2 separate regions of the Homo sapiens genome follow, and region 1 is linked to region 2. Evidence: promoter capture Hi-C in 16 types of primary human blood cells and fetal thymus (Javierre and others, 2016). All regions are on one chromosome and are shown on one strand. Each heading gives the region's core, a stretch centred on a gene start or on the middle of the fragment in contact. The rest is flanking DNA. Distances are from core to core; before and after follow the strand shown.

Region 1 (3,626 bases), core at 421-2,920, 60 kb after region 2:
TAGCCATCCTAATTACTAATAATAAAAACATACAGCTCTTACTGACCAACATAGAACTCTGGAATGTGGAGTACTTTTCTCCTTTCTAACATATCTTTTCTTTCTATTTGAAATTTCAGAGGATCTGTTCTTCCCCTTCGAGGAATGAATTCAGGACTCAAGAACCTGTAAAAAATACAAATAAATAATTAAAAGTAAACTCAAAAGGCTGCTAGAAGAAAAATTGTTGCTTTTCAAAGAAATTAAATATGATATTGATGTATTTTATTCTTCATTGTCTAAATAAAAGTCAATCTTATTTCTAAAATTGTTAATGCTCATGAAAATAGCTAACAATTCCTGAGTACTCACCTGGTATTTTGTTAAAAGCTTTATGAAACATCTATAGCATAAATTAATCCTTCTAGCAACCATGTGGGTTTGGTGTCATCTCCTTTTTACAGAGCAAGAAACTGAAGCTTGAAAAAGGTAAATAACTAACCCATTGCTACATTAGCTATAAATCTGTCAAATCAAGATTTAAATGTAGGTATGTTGGTCAGTCTCCAAAGCCTATAACCATTACTACAGGCCTCACACTGAGCTATACATGCTATAATAAATTATGTCAGAAAAGACATCAACATATAAATCACTAATTATAAATTGACTTTTAAAATGATCTTCCTGATCAGAGAAGATGGCCCTGGAGATGGTGCTGAAGGACCTGGGGCATCTGCAGGCTTGTTGGCTGTGTTTGCTGGTCAAGACTATAGACCAGTTTGAATATGAAGGTTCTGACAACTGTAACACCTATCTACAGACGAAGAGTAACTGAGATGGTATATGACTGCACTAGCTCTTCCTTTGATGGAATCATTGCAATGATGAGTCCAGAGGACAGCTAGGTCTCCAAGTGGCAGCGAGTCAGTAACTTTAAGCCAGGTACATATGCGGTGTCATTCACTGGTCACCTGCCCCAAGGAATCGTGTAGGAGCTGAAAAGTCGAGGAGAGACCTACAAATCCAGAGACACAGCTGCAGCACATCGTGTCCCTGAACCATTTTCTCTTCCTTGGATGACAGGTGCGGGTGGGAGGGATTTGGGTTGGTGGATTAACAGATCGAACTGAAGAGAAAGTAGGATGCTGATTTTCCTATCCATGGCCCAGGGATGCACCTTGCCCATGGCAAGGACTCTAGGTCAAATGCCAATAAATATGAACCTCTAGAAAGTTCTTAAGGCCATGATACATTCCTTGCCTCCCTCTCCCTTTCTCTTAGGCACAGTAAGAGCTTGTTTATGCTGTAAGAATCTTCCCAGAACAGCAGAGGCCCTTCTACTCCCTACTGACTGTCTCTGAGCCTTCTGTACTGCAGCCTTTCTAGTGTGCTTCCTTGCTTCCAATCAGAAGGTGCTGTCCAGAGGCTAGGTAATCCCATCAGCTTGGTAGTCCTGGGGTCTCGTGGTTGTATCTTTCTGCCCTCTAGACCTGGCACAGCAGTATCCCTTGAAGAAATCCTGAGGCTTCATAGTGCTCTTCGCTCCTTGACCACGTTTAATAATTCTTGCTTTTCCCCCTCCTCGTCTCTTCTCTTCTGTTTACCGCTCTTCCTATACCTTAGGCCAGTCTCACATCCCTGCATTTCACATTCTCCTAACTGGAGACCCTTGGGCCTTAGGCAACTGCTGGGTCCTAGTCTGCCTTGTTTGTGCCTCTGTAGGAGGTAAGTCCTTCCTTTTCTCCTCTGGCCTAGTAGGGGACCTTGGGTAATGTCCCATTTTGGCCAAGGTGAGGTATTCGTTTTAGAATAAAAAATTCACCATAAATTCTCATTTACTTAAATTTCCACAGAAATCCTGTTAGTGTCCCCGTTTTGATTTCCCTAAGTTGCTGGTTCTCCCTCTGTAAAAAGAGAATGATTAGACCCTGCCTGTTTACCTCAGGATTGTTGTGATTGTAGAAATGAAGCTATGTGAAAATTGTGTAAGTCTTACAAAGGTGAAATCCTTTTGCTTAAAAAATAATAATCTTCTTTTTTTCTTCTTTAACTGATTTTAAGCTCATTATGAAATATTTAATCTACATAAAAAGTATAAATGACAGTACAATGAATATTCATGTCTTTACCACCCACCTCAAGAAATAAATTATCAATATTGTGGAAGCCCCTGTGTATTTAGGATAGTTCATTACTATCCTAAATTTGGTGATTATTCCCATGAATTTCTTTCTCTTCCTCAATTTTCTACTTTGAAAATTTTAAAGCCTACCAAAAAATAGTAATACAATGAACACCTGTAGATCTTTCATCCACTTTTACCAACTGCTAAAATTTTGCTATATTTGCTTTATATACACATATCATTTTTTTCTGAACCATTTGAAAATGTCAGCCAGGTGTGGTAGCTTACGTCTGTTATCCCAACACTTGGGAGGCCGAGGAGGGTAGATCGTTTGAGCCCAGGAGTTCCAGACCAGCCTAGGCAACATAGTGAGACCTCATTCTACAACAAAAAAATTTTTAAAATAGCCAGGCATGGTGGCGGGCACCTGTAGTCCCAGCCACTTGGGAGACTGAGTAGGGAGGGGCCCAGGAGTAGGAGTTGCAGAGCCAAGATCATGCCACTGCACTCCAGCCTGGATGACAAAGCAAGGCTCTGTCTCAAAAAAATGGAACAGCAAGGCATTTCATCCCTCAATAATTTAGAAGGCTTATGCTAAGAATAAGGACTTGCTCCTATATTATCACGATACCCTTCTGACACCTATAAAAGTCAGCATTAATTTGATAACATAATCTAATACAAAGGTATCCAATCATCTGGCTTCCCTGGGACACACTGGAGGAATTATCTTGAGCCACACATAAAAGACACCAACAATAGCTGGTAAGCTTAAAAAAAAAAGGCACAAAAAAAATCTCATATGTTTTAAGAAAGTTTACAGATTTGTGTTGGGCCACATTTAAAGCTGTCCTGGGCTGTGGGTTGGACAAGCTTGGTCTAATACAGAGTTCATACTCAAATGTATGTCATTATCCTGGGAAGGTATTTTACATCTATTCGTTGCCCAATTCAAAATACAATCAAGCTTCACACATATTTGGTCATTAGTCTCTCAGACTAGGACTTTTTTCCAACTTTGTATTTTTATAACATTAACTTTTTTGAACAGTCAAGGCCTACTATCTCATCTCTGGATTCTGGATTGTTTCCACATGCCTAGACTAAGGTTAAATAATTTTAGTAAGAATATTACAGGGAGATGATGTGAACAACTTATTCTGTCACATCAGGAGACACATAATATCAACTGGTACCAATACTGGTAAAGTTAGGTTTGACTGTTTGGCAAAGTTTCAGAAGGCCCCCCTTACATTTCTTTTTACTTTTCATATGCATGTATGTCTGGGCAACATATATTGTTTCGTATAATTTTGTTTTTGTTTTTTTCTGAGACAGAGTCTTGCTCTATCGCCCAGGCTGGAGTGCAGTGGCACGATCTCGGCTCACTGCAACCTCGGCATCCTGTGTTCAAGCAATTCTTCTGCCTCAGCCTCTCGAGTAACTGGGATTATAGGCACATGCCACCACACCTGGCTAATTTTTTTTTTTTTTTGTACTTTTAGTAGAAATGGGGGTT
Region 2 (3,229 bases), core at 285-2,784:
CCTGAGCTAGATACAAAAGTTCTCCACATCCCCATCAGATTAGTTAGATACAGAGTTTCCACACACAGGTTCTCCAAGGCCTCACCAGAGCAGCTAGATAGAATGTCTATTGGTGCACTCACAAACCTTGAGCTAAACACAGGGTGCTGATTGGTGGGTTTACAAACCTTGAGCTAGATACAGAGTGCCGATTGGTGTTTTTACAATCCCTGAGCTAGACATAAAGGTTCTCCAAGGCCCCACCAGAGCAGCTAGATACAGAGTGTCGATTGGTGCACTCATAAACCTTGAGCTAAACACAGGGTGCTGATTGGTGTGTTTACAAACCTTGAGCCAGATACAGAGTGCTGATTGGTGTATTTACAATCCCTGAGCTAGACATAAAGACTCTCTATGTCCCCACCAGACTCAGGAGCCCAACTGGCTTCACCTAGTGGATCCCGCACCGGGGCTGCAGGTGGAGCTGCCTGCCAGTCCGGCGCCGTGCGCTCGTACTCCTCAGCCCTTGGGTGGTCGATGGGACTGGGCGCCGTGGAGCAGGGGGTGGTGCTCGTCGGGGATGCTCGGGCAGCACAGGAGCCCATGGAGTGGATGGGAGGCTCAGGCATGGCGGGCTGCAGGTCCCGAGCCCTGCACCGCGGGAAGGCAGCTAAGGCCCGGCGAGAAATCGAGCACAGCGCCGGTGGGCCGGCACTGCTAGGGGACCCAGTACACCCTCTGTAGCCGCTGGCCCGGGTGCCAAGTCCCTCACTGCCCGGGGCTGGCAGGGCCGGCCGGCTGCTCCGAGTGCAGGCCCGCCAAGCCCATGCCCACCCGGAACTCCAGCTGGCCCGCTGTCACCTCTCAATATGACGCCACTAAACATGGAGTTGATAACAGGTGTGCAGTAGCTCAACATTATATAGTATTTCTACCATACAGATACAGTAGTAGACAGAGCTTGATGAATATAGAACAAATTTGCGTCAGACAATAGCTTTTTGTTTTTAGATAGTTTCTTTAAGGGTGAAAACATTTAACCAGGCTCTCTTGAAGCCCTGCTGCCTGGGGGAAGTCATTTGATTTTTGCTAGTCTGTATGCATTGTTTATGTACAGACTTTATGGTTTTGTTCTCAAAGGCATCTCCTCCTACCCCGAGCCTCACACTGCTGGGGTTTCGTTTGTTTTAAATCTTGGTTGGAGGGGGCACTCTCTCCAGAAAGTAAAAGACAACGGATCTGGCTCCAGTCCAGGACGGAAAGCATAACGCTTGATTTCTGGATGGGGTTTGCACAAGGACAGCACGTGAGTTCTGCTCTCCGTGGGACTCAGACCGGATAGGCCGTGAAAATCTCTAAGGTGTCAGTCCACGCAACCTAACCTGGCAAAGGGAATGCTTTGCAAACTCAGGCCCCAGAACAGAACTCGGCCTACCAGATCCAGGGAGCCAAAGCACGCAGGCGCAGACAGAGTAGCGGTGAGCAGAAGGCAGGCGGGACGGGCGCGCGCACTCGGCGGCCAGGCGCGGCGGGAGCGCGCCCTAGGGGGCGGGCACTGAAGCTGCGGCTTGCGGTTCAGCGGGTTCTAGGGCGCCGGGCGCTCGGGCCTCGGCCATGGCTCACAGGCCGAAAAGGACTTTTCGGCAGCGCGCGGCTGATTCCAGCGACAGCGATGGCGCCGAGGAGTCGCCTGCTGAGCCTGGGGCGCCGAGGGAACTTCCGGTCCCGGGTTCTGCGGAGGAAGAGCCGCCCTCTGGAGGAGGCCGCGCGCAGGTGGCGGGACTGCCCCACCGGGTTCGGGGCCCTCGTGGCCGGGGCCGGGTCTGGGCGAGCTCCCGGCGTGCCACCAAAGCGGCTCCCCGCGCGGACGAAGGCTCAGGTGTCCAGGGAGACGCGGGGAAGCGGGGAGGTGACGGCACAGGGCGGGAAGGGGCCGCGGGGTCTCTGGATCCTTCTCTGGGGGTTCTATAACTTGCTGCCGACCACAAGCCATGCTGAGTCTTATCCAGAAAGACTTATCCAGAAGGTAGTGAGCGAGAAAATAGCTCGAGCACTTGCCCGCTATCTGCATCTGCCTTTTGGACTCCTTGGGGGAAATAAAACAATCGTGTACAGTTGGGAGGCTCTTCGTTTTCACCATCAGTTGACTCCATCAGTTATAACTAACACAGTTATCAAAGTTTATGAAGAACCTAAACTGTCACAACAAAGTTCAATAATTTATAATACTATTAAGTGGGCAGAAGTTATATGTACCTTTTAGACACTTGACCAACTTATCTTTCTTGAAAACATTTAGCCAGAGTAGTACAGGAATCTAGGTTTTGGGACATTCCCCTTTGTTTATTTTCTTTTTTCACCAGTTATTTGCAAAAACTAATAGTAATATATACAACACAAAGAAGCATGATAGAGATTCATGACACTGTAGATGGTACCAGTAATGGTGTTAGATATAGTGTCGTCATTTTGAAGTACCTTTGAGTTCTTAAATACAGGTGTAAGGCAGCATAAAGTTGTTTAAATAAAATGTGCTGCTCTGAGTTGGAATTGTAGCTTAATGAGGAATACGGTTTTTGGTTAGTCTTGAGAGCTAAAATCTTCCTATTATTTTTTATTGTCATTAAAGTGATTTTTATTAATTTATTGAGAAGTAAAAAATGTATATACTTATAGTGTACAACATGATGTTTGAAATGTGTCTACAGTGACTAAATGGAGCTAATTAACATTTGCTTTACCTTAGGTACTTACTTTTTTTTGTGGTGAGAACACTTACTATCTACTCTTACTAATTTTCAAGTATGCAATGCATTGTTATTAATTTTAGTCACCGTGTTGTAGAATAGAATTCCTCTTGTCTAATTAAAATGTGTGCCCTTTGACCAGTATCTTCCCAACTACCCTCAACCTCACTCAGTCCCTTCTAACCACTACTCGACTCTCTGCTTCTGTGATTTCTGATTTCCACTTTTTTAGATTACATATGTGAGATCATGTGGTGTTTGTCTCTCTGTGCCTGTCTTATTTCATGTAACATAATGTCCTCCAGGTTTATGATCTTCGTGATTTCTTGGTCTTTCTTGTGACCTTCTATTTGTCTAAAGTTTTCATGACCTTTTATATTTGTTTTCTGGTTAAACTTTGTAGATGAAAGTTGAAGTCAGGAGTTCCTTTTCTCTTGCCTTCTAGAATAGTGGTTCTCAAACTCTTTGGGAATTGGACCTCTTTTAGACTCTTAGAAATGATT

The links. Contacts are between HindIII fragments. The CHiCAGO score rates a contact against its expected background, and 5 or more counts as called.
Region 1: a contact is called between a fragment that was not itself captured here and the fragment with the promoter of GCFC2 in region 2, in 3 of 17 cell types (non-activated CD4 T cells, activated CD4 T cells and total CD8 T cells). The highest score is 6.2, in non-activated CD4 T cells.

What each region holds. Positions count from the first base shown.
Region 1 is chr2:75,648,681-75,652,306 of GRCh38, reverse strand. MRPL19 (mitochondrial ribosomal protein L19) reads right to left here. Exons shown (of 6, transcript NM_014763.4): 3 at 47-165. It also overlaps the pseudogene SUPT4H1P1. Among named protein-coding and RNA genes, the nearest start is that of MRPL19, 3.7 kb to the right of the region's middle. The HindIII fragment of the contact is 2,419 bases long and covers 461-2,879 here.
Region 2 is chr2:75,709,220-75,712,448 of GRCh38, reverse strand. It overlaps GCFC2 (GC-rich sequence DNA-binding factor 2), which reads left to right and starts at 1,534. Exons shown (of 17, transcript NM_003203.5): 1 at 1,534-1,858. The coding sequence starts at 1,594. LOC105374813 (a long non-coding RNA gene) reads right to left here and starts at 1,510. Exons shown (of 3, transcript XR_940260.2): 1 at 1,415-1,510. RefSeq lists an enhancer at 153-724 and a silencer at 1,703-2,002. The HindIII fragment of the contact is 8,873 bases long and covers 1-3,229 here.